3 separate regions of the Homo sapiens genome follow, and regions 1 and 2 are each linked to region 3. The links are contacts of gene promoters, found by promoter capture Hi-C in blood cells and fetal thymus (Javierre and others, 2016). All regions are on one chromosome and are shown on one strand. The core of a region is centred on a gene start or on the middle of the fragment in contact, and the rest is flanking DNA. Distances in the headings are between cores, read along the strand shown.

Region 1 (2,904 bases), core at 62-2,561, 710 kb after region 3:
CATGCTTATATAGATGCATATGTATATATTAATACACATACAATGTGCACAGATATAGATGAGCCAGGGGATCTGCAAGAAAGATTGGGGGGGAGAATAACCATTGTTAAGCACATGAAATTTAGCAAGATAGAGATTAATGAGCTCCATACAAAAGTCATGTGAGTAGTTCATGAGACCTGCATGCCATATGGTCCTCGTGAGTGCCTGGAAGTAGGCATGCTCCATGATAAGGAATGCTGAGGGCAGATTTAATAGCTGAAGAAAAACTGCTACAAGAGATTTTAATAAGTGCTACTGAAATGGGATGTATTGCTCAGATCCTTTTGCACCAACTTGTCTTAGCCGTAATGTGCCTCACATCTCCTAGAAGAGTTTCATCTGTTTTGGTGAGCCAGTGGTACTTGATTGAAGCCAAGCAGCTGGCTTTGAACACATTCAGAAGATCCCATGGGCCCTAAGTATTTTAATAAGCCTTTTCATCTGGCCCGTATTTCTGAAGAAGAAACCAAGGCAATTAAAAACCATTAAATGGTTGGTTCAACATCAAAAGAAGAATGATATCAGGATTGGCCCCCACCACCAGACTGTCAACTCCACCCTAAGATCTACTGCTGCCTTCACCGAATGATAGAAAAATATCATCTACCCAAGATAAAAGTGATAGAATTTACAAAACAAAGCCAGATGATGAATTAGTATTTTTAAAACAATGACATGCCAGCCTATACTGTTTTACATAGAAAGAATGTCATCTGTATCACCCTAAGGAGATTTTAAATCATCATCTAATAAAGCCTTTGCCATTTGCATGTGCTGGAATGTTTACCTGTTTTCAAAAAACAGTCAACATAGACAGTTTTATAGAAAAGTTTATGGCTATAAGAGAAAGAGAAAGGAAATGATGTATGTTTCTAGTCGATTTAAATCAAGCAAAATGGAGAAAAGGAAAGCACTTCCACTTTAGAAGTTTTGGTGACGTATTGGCAGCCATACTTGCTTTTCGATTACATTTAAGAGAGTAGGCTCAGGCTCTGCCTGCCACAGAACACCTCAGCCTTCATTAGCAGTGTCAATGACCCAAGACAGCACACTAGCCCCAAGCACGTCCTGTATGAGGTCAGGGCTGCAGCCTCAAGAAATACGGCTTTCATTGCTGACTACTACTTCAAATGCTTCCAGTCACACTGAACTGAAATATCTTCTGGAGTTTGTCAATGTCCTGAGTCCATGTTGTGATTTTTCTTATTGGCACCATAGTTATACACAACAAAGAGCAGCCAATGATTAGTAATACAGCCCCACTCCTGCTAAATTTACATGTCTTTTAGCCTATGCAAATTAAATTCACGTATATTTAGGTAAGGACTAATATAATTCAGTTTTCCAAACCAGTAACACAATATGCTTTTGACAATTAAAACTTAGCCGAGTCTACCTGTTTTCCACAGCATTAATGTTTAGATTCGGTTTACCAGTTGTTATACCTAAAACTTCAGGAGGGAAACGCATAACCCTGAATGGAAAACAATCTCAGATAGAATGCTATTTCCAAATGGTTGTTTATGTAGGTACAGTTTTGGTGATGGTGAAGGCTTATTATTCTATTTTAAAACAGAGGTGATTGGTTTCTCTAGTACCCAGAATGCATGCTTTTCTTTGGATGTAGCGGTAATCGCATGTGCAGAAATGTTAAGTACTGTTTTGTTGTTACAAATAGATCTGAGCTGAATGAAAAAATGTTACTTCTATGTGAATTTCAGTGACTTAATTTGACCTAGACATATTTTGTCTGAGAAATTTAAGAAGAAATATCAAAGTTTAGGAATAGGAATGTCTAGCTGCGCTCTTCCATAGAAACATGTAATATTAATACAAGCTGTATATGTAGTTTGAAATTTTCTAGAAGCTACATTTTACAAAATTAAAGAGAAACAGGTAGAATTAATTTTAATAACATGTCAACCCAGTATACCCAAAATAATTGTCTTGATATCTAATTAATGTAAAAATTATTGAAGTCATGTTTACATTCTTTTTTGTTTGTTTGTTTTGTCCTAAGTCTTTGAAATTCATTGTGTATTTTAAACTGGACCAACCACATTTCAAGTGCTCAATAGCCACATGTGGCTGGTGGCTACCATAGTGTGCAGCAAGGAATTATATAGCAATAAGGATTATTATGCTACTTAGTTCTTAAATAAAATATCTTTTGCATGTTTTATATCTATATACTCATTTCCCTTATATACATGAATATTTTATACGTACATATTCTAGAAGATGTCATCAGCCCAAACTTAACAAATCATGCTTTTGTTTTGTCAGTTCCTGTAATGCAGTGTTTTTTCTTTTTCATTATCATCGCCAGTGGGGACTCTTTAGACAGTTTTTTTCTAATTACTCCCTTTCATGAAATTTTAATGTCACATATGTACTGTATACTATTATAGTATATCTTTTGAAGGCCACAAACCACTGTAATGTCTAAGATTTTCTGCCCCACAAGAGCTCATTTGTGTCCCTTTGGAGATATCTTCCCCATTGAAAATGTATGCTAGAGTACTTTCTCTCAATTCTACGCCAGTGAAATAAATCAGGTCGACTCTACTGGCTTAAGTTATTGGTTGTCCCAGACAAGTAAGAAAGTTATAATCCCCACCTTTTTTTTCTACTTTATGTAGTCCTGCTTCAAATTATTTTTATACAGAAAGGAATTCACCCTCTTTTCTTCCTAGATTAACAAAATTAAGAAGTTTGTCATTTTGTTTCATTTTATTTTTAATTGAGAGGCCCGTAGGAGTGATGCACTGATTAAAACTTGCTTTCCATTAGCCAGGTAGGATTTTGATGCCCACTTGCTTTCCCAGATGTTGATGTTGGTAGCGATACTTCCAGAATAAA
Region 2 (2,779 bases), core at 135-2,634, 690 kb after region 3:
TGCTGGGAACACAGGCGTGAGCCACTGTGCCTGGCCTACTTATTAATAATTTTATTCTTGTTTTTAATGAATATTTGTTGGCTAAAACAGAACTGATTTGATCTTTGGGTATATAGTCCCAAATGGTTCTGTCACTGGAAGACGGATGAATCCGGCAGCACAGTCAAGCTACCGGATGACATAATACCAGGAGGCCATCAGATATGTGAAGAGTCAGCATCCATTACTGAGAAATGAGAATCTCTGCCTATGAAATCCACATAAATCTCTAAATGAGAAGATGCAAACAATTAGAAAATTATGTTGAAATCCAGCGTATTATTATCTTGTCTCTATCTTCACTCACATCGTCTTAGTTTAGCTCTCATACCCCAGTGACCCCTTAGCACTCAATGCCTTTTTCTTAGCATTTAATTCCTATTCTCCAGGTTTTCATGGCTATAGAACACAGGATGACATCTCAAATATGTTTACACTTTAGGGCTTCCCCCTCAAAACATGATGAAAGGAAATATAGGAATAAAATGGATTATCATAGTGGAGGTGTGGAATGAAGAGTGGTTTCTCCTTGCAAATGGAATCAGTTCAGGGTGTAGATGAATACTGCTTGGCCTGACCTGGGTTGCAGGTTCTTATCATAAATTGAGTAAAGTTTGCATTACATTTCCCCAAGTTGAGATACATTTCTTGAAATGCCAACTATTAGAACGTTGAAAACACAATTTCGGCTCTCTCTTCTCAAATCCCTGCAGTCTGGCTCCTGGCCCAGCCACTCAACCCAAATCACCCTCTGAGGTCTTCCAAAATAACTTCCCAGCCAAAACCAATAGTATCCTTCTAGACTTGTCAGCTTTATTCAAAACCTTATTCTTCTCCCTGCTAACACCCATCTGGTCTCAAATTTTAAGGGTTTGTCCCTTCCAGGTTTTTTCTTTCTCTTATCTTCGGAGTTGCACCTATGAGCAGTTCTTCTTTAGACATCATTCCAACTTTGATAATTTTAAACACAATGTTTGAGCATGAATTACTTCCCTATTCCCATCCCTATCCCCAAATGCTCCTTTCTTTTTAGTCTTATATCTCTTGATGCTAGGCCTTCAGCTGCAGTTAATTATGGTAAAGTAACAACTCTGGTCTTGATTTTCGACTTCTTGCTGCTGTTTAATATCTTGGTTTCTGTAAACAAAAATTGAGTCATTTTAACTCTTTACTGACCCCATCACTTCCCAAAGCATATATTTTTTACCTGGATTACACTTAGAGAACTAATGTTCTTTTAGCTATTCTCACCCCTCCCTTCTTCAACCTTAGTCAAATGCAGGTTAGACCAAACTCTACACATGTTTGGATAGGGAGATTCCTCTTACCTTGTTGATAAAAATGCAATTAAAAATTAAGTGATGGTCGCACCATCCTCTGCCAGCTCTTCCTGTTTCACCTCCAGATAACATTCTCTACTCAAGTCCTATAAATACCCAGTTGACCTATTTTTCTCTATCTTTTAATTCTTATTATTTGTCATTATTCTTAAAAAGACATCCTTTCTTTTTAGTAAGTTTGCTCCATTCTTCAGCACCCCATCCAAATACCTTTCTCCAGAATACTTTCCATAGATTATATGTAAACTGGGTCATATGAACTAGCTGATTTCCTTCCTCCTTCTCTCCTCAACATACAGCTTTATGTGAAAATGTATGCTGAGTCATCGTTACGTATGTCTGAATTCCCAGGTGTGTCTGTGCATTTGGTATGTCTGAACCTTCTGGAAAGTCACCTTTTTGGAAAACTGAGAAATCTTTTGAATCTTCAGTAAAAACCCATGCAGTCTTCTCCCTCTTCCACCACAGCAATATGTGCTTAAAATATTTTTAATAATAAGCGCTTACTGAAATTTTACCTCATTATGTGTACATTTTCTTTACAGGATCCCCCCATGGCTGTAACCCTTGGACTCCGCATGGAAGAAATGATTTTTAATCTTGCTGATACTCATTTGTTTTTTAATGATTTAGAGGTAAGAATTTTACAAGGTACAAATAGTTGTATCCAACACCAGACCTCCTAGATGGTTTCTGTATCTGTAGATAACCTCGAGAAAACAGAAAGATAAAAATTCAGCTCAAGAGAAGCATAAAGTTCTTGTCAAGAGGAAAAATTGTATATACAAATATAAGCAGAAAGTTAATTTGTGTTCATGAATAATACATATGTAGAACAAAAATGTCTCTGAAGAGGAGATTGTTGGCTTTGCTGTCCTTACTGTCCACAGCTGTACATGACTCTTGGTTCTTTTAGTGTTTCAGCATTAGCTCTTCCAGATTATTAACCCGGAACCTATCTAGGTTAATCACTAAACGATATTCACAGACACTATTCATGGTGATAGCGTGGATCAATTAATTTTGTGGATAATCTGAAACTTAACTTTAGCTAACATTATCATTCCCCGTTTCTTTCCCTTCTGGATAAAACAGTGCTAGAACTATTTAAGCACATTTGATGCATTTAAATGCATTTATTTTCTCATTTTAAAAATTATGTTTCTATTTTCAACCTCAAATGGCAAGACAGTGTCTAAATGGCAAATAAGAGGAATAGAAAATAAAAATCAACAGCAAAATGAAACGACCCAAGGAAAAATAGCCTCAGAGTAGTTGAATGTGTACTGCAATAAAGTATGCCATCTGTGTGCTAATGACCTAGGTTATTAGACATTCAGATAATAGAATTCGAAATAACTAAATAGTTCAGGTTCTTGGCAGAAGTACTTCTCAGTCAA
Region 3 (2,872 bases), core at 55-2,554:
CCATTTTTGTTTTTTTCGCTGCACTCACCAGTCTAACAGTATCTGCCCACTGGATTCACAGCGCTGGCACGTGCCAAGCGCCTAATAATTGCTCACTGGTTTGGCGGCTGACTACCCAGGAGAGGAAATTAAACACAAAGGCAGTATTGATCATATTCAGTAGTGTTTCGTGCGTTTGGTTTGGAAGTGGGGATTGGGGAATGGCCAATCACTTCCAAATTTAAAATATTGCTTCCTGGAAGAAAATGGACTCCTCAAAGACTGGATATTTCATGTCTGTAGTCCCAGGACCTGGCCCTGCGTCAGGCACATTGTAGGTGTTGAAAATGCACCTGAGGAATTCTGAGTTGCGCGGAACTGTGTATTCCGAGCACAACGCGTCGTTAAAAACCAAACAAAGCAGAACAAACTTCGTTCAGAAGCGACTCCCGCTATACTTAGAAACTAGAATTGACCCCTGGCTGCAGGGTTCCGCTTTACCAACACACCGCAGGGAAAGGGCTTAGAAATAGTGAAAGCGGCCGGGGGCGGCGGGTCACGCCTCTAATCCCAGCATTTTGGGAGGCCGAGGCGGGTGGATCCCCTGAGGTCAGGAGTTCGAGACCAGCCTGGCCAACATGGTGAAATCCCGTCTTTACTAAAAATACAAAAAATTAGCCAGGGTGGTGGCAGGCGCCTGCAATCCCGGCTACTCGGGAGGCTGAGGCAGGAGAATCGCTTGAAACCGGGAGCCGGAGGTCGCAGTAAGCTGAGATCGCGCCATTGCACTCCAGCCTGGAAGAGTGAAAGCATGTAGGCTCTCGTTTCATGAAGACAAAGATGAGGATCACACCCACAACGACACAAACATGGTCTCTCAGGGTGACTTAGAAGCGAAGGAACAAAGTGCGCTGCCTGGGGAGGCTGGGTCTTGTAGAAGCAACAGGAAAGTAGAACGTGGTGTGGAAAGGGTTAAAACTGGCGCTCGGCGGGATACAGGGCTCTAGGTGCCTTAAAGAACACGCGGACACACTTGTTTGGCTTCTGTCGCGCTCCGTAGAATGAGTTCCCTGGGCCTCGGTGGGCCACGCCTCCGCAAAGAAGGACAACGCGAAGCTGCCCGCGTAGTGCCTGTTGCACTCGCCAAGGACCGGCCTGGCAGAGATAGAAAACTCGCAGTACGTTTGCCTCAGAACCGCCTCAATCCGGAAACAGAAACTCCCCAGGCCCGGCACTGCGGGAGCCACCTCTTTCGAGGGTGGGAGTGCACATGCGCACAGGGGACCTGAAAAACCCTTAAATACCGGCATGCGTGCGGATGAGGCCTCTTTCCCTGCCGCCGCCGAGTCGCGCGGAGGCGGAGGCTTGGGGTAAGTTGAGCGAGGCGGCAGGGGGGTGTATTGGTTATAATTTGTGGCTCGTTGCGTTCTTGCTGGGATTCGTGACGAGTATCTGGTTCTTTAACAAGTCAATGCTTTTGTTTTTTAGTGCGTTCAAGATTCAACTTCACCCGTAACCCACCGCCATGGCCGAGGAAGGGTGAGCCCAGGGGCCGGGGTTGGAGTTGGGGTCGGGGTGCGGCTGAGGCGTGGGGCTAGAGCTGGCGGAACAGGACTGGGTCAAACGGGTCGCCGTAAGCGCGTCTGTTGTACACTTAGCTTTTGCTGAGTGCAAGGCCTTATGTGGTGTGAGGATTTTAACTGATGGTTCTGATGTGTCGCGTTTAAGCATTGCTGCTGGAGGTGTAATGGACGTTAATACTGCTTTACAAGAGGTTCTGAAGACTGCCCTCATCCACGATGGCCTAGCACGTGGAATTCGCGAAGCTGCCAAAGCCTTAGACAAGTACGTGTATCAGTCTCAATACTGTGGGTTCTTGCAACCGGAACAAAACTGCCACCCAAGGGAAGAAGGCATGGAGTTCATGGTGTTAGCGCAAAAGTTCTGAATGGCATCCGTCCTACCGGAAACCTAGGAAAAGGTATCAGAACTCAGATCTATAAAGCCCACTTAAAATGTGTGGGTTGCTGTTTGGAATGGGGATAAGCACTCAAAACTACAGTGTTTGAATGATGACTTTAATTGTCGGATACCCCTTCACTCCTTTTATGAGTGAAACATAAGAGTCTGACAAACCTGTAGGTTGTGGAGCTAGTCAGTCTTATACTTATCTGGCAGATAGATGAGATGGAGAGCCACATTACATCTGGTAGTTTGCAAAACAAGCATTAATTTAATGGAATTTCAAACTCAGGTTTCAGAAGCATTTGGTCCTAGATGAATTTAGTAGTATAATAGCTGTGATTTATTTGAATTTGGGATATTTGTTAATGTATTTGAATGGATCGAGTTAATGTGTTTTTTAGGGTGGTGGCATTGACAAATCAACCTACTCTTGAGCTGAATTTAAATGCAGTTTTAAGGTTTTACAGGACAAGTTCGTTTTGGTGTAATCTAGCCAGTTCAATCCGATGGAAACGGCATTATTGTTTAATGTATTTAGTAGGTCCTAGTATGAGTCTTCTGTATTTCTATTTCGGCATTATTGCATGGCATTTCATAACTGTTCCATTAATGCCACAGTCTTTTTTTTTTCTTTTTTCTTTTTTTTTTTTGAGACAAAGAGTCTTGCTCTGTCCCCCAGGCTGGAGTGCAGTGGCGCGATCTCATTGCAACCTCTACCTACCAGGTTCAAGCGATTCTTCTGCCTCCCGAGTAGATGGAATTACAGGCACACGCCACCATGCCCAGCTAGTTTTTGTACTTTCAGTAGAAACGGGGTTTCGCCATGTTGGTCTCTGGCTGGTCTGGTACTCCTGACCTCGGGTCATCTGCCCCCCTCGTCTTCCCAAAGTGCTGGGATTACAGGAGTGAGCCATCGTGCCCGGCCTTT

Evidence for each region. The method cuts DNA at HindIII sites, captures the fragments that hold promoters and counts their contacts. A CHiCAGO score of 5 or more calls a contact.
Region 1: a contact is called between a fragment that was not itself captured here and the fragment with the promoter of RPS12 in region 3, in 1 of 17 cell types (endothelial precursors). The highest score is 5.4, in endothelial precursors.
Region 2: a contact is called between a fragment that was not itself captured here and the fragment with the promoter of RPS12 in region 3, in 1 of 17 cell types (megakaryocytes). The highest score is 7.1, in megakaryocytes.

The regions. Positions count from the first base shown.
Region 1 is chr6:133,525,552-133,528,455 of GRCh38, forward strand. All of the region lies in intron 19 of EYA4 (EYA transcriptional coactivator and phosphatase 4), which reads left to right. All of the region lies in intron 6 of TARID (TCF21 antisense RNA inducing promoter demethylation), which reads right to left. Among named protein-coding and RNA genes, the nearest start is that of EYA4-AS2, 70 kb to the left of the region's middle. The HindIII fragment of the contact is 5,594 bases long and covers 1-2,904 here.
Region 2 is chr6:133,504,182-133,506,960 of GRCh38, forward strand. It overlaps EYA4 (EYA transcriptional coactivator and phosphatase 4), which reads left to right. Exons shown (of 20, transcript NM_004100.5): 14 at 1,925-2,014. TARID (TCF21 antisense RNA inducing promoter demethylation) reads right to left here. Exons shown (of 9, transcript NR_109982.1): 8 at 1,898-2,089. Among named protein-coding and RNA genes, the nearest start is that of EYA4-AS2, 49 kb to the left of the region's middle. RefSeq lists an enhancer at 970-2,169. The HindIII fragment of the contact is 5,382 bases long and covers 1-2,779 here.
Region 3 is chr6:132,813,265-132,816,136 of GRCh38, forward strand. RPS12 (ribosomal protein S12) reads left to right here and starts at 1,305. Exons shown (of 6, transcript NM_001016.4): 1 at 1,305-1,349; 2 at 1,468-1,518; 3 at 1,708-1,824. The coding sequence starts at 1,505. SNORD101 (small nucleolar RNA, C/D box 101) reads left to right here and starts at 2,043; the gene lies at 2,043-2,115. LOC107986644 (a long non-coding RNA gene) reads right to left here and starts at 1,024. Exons shown (of 3, transcript XR_001744345.3): 1 at 29-1,024. RefSeq lists enhancers at 270-1,016, 931-1,210, 1,641-1,770. The HindIII fragment of the contact is 13,401 bases long and covers 1-2,872 here.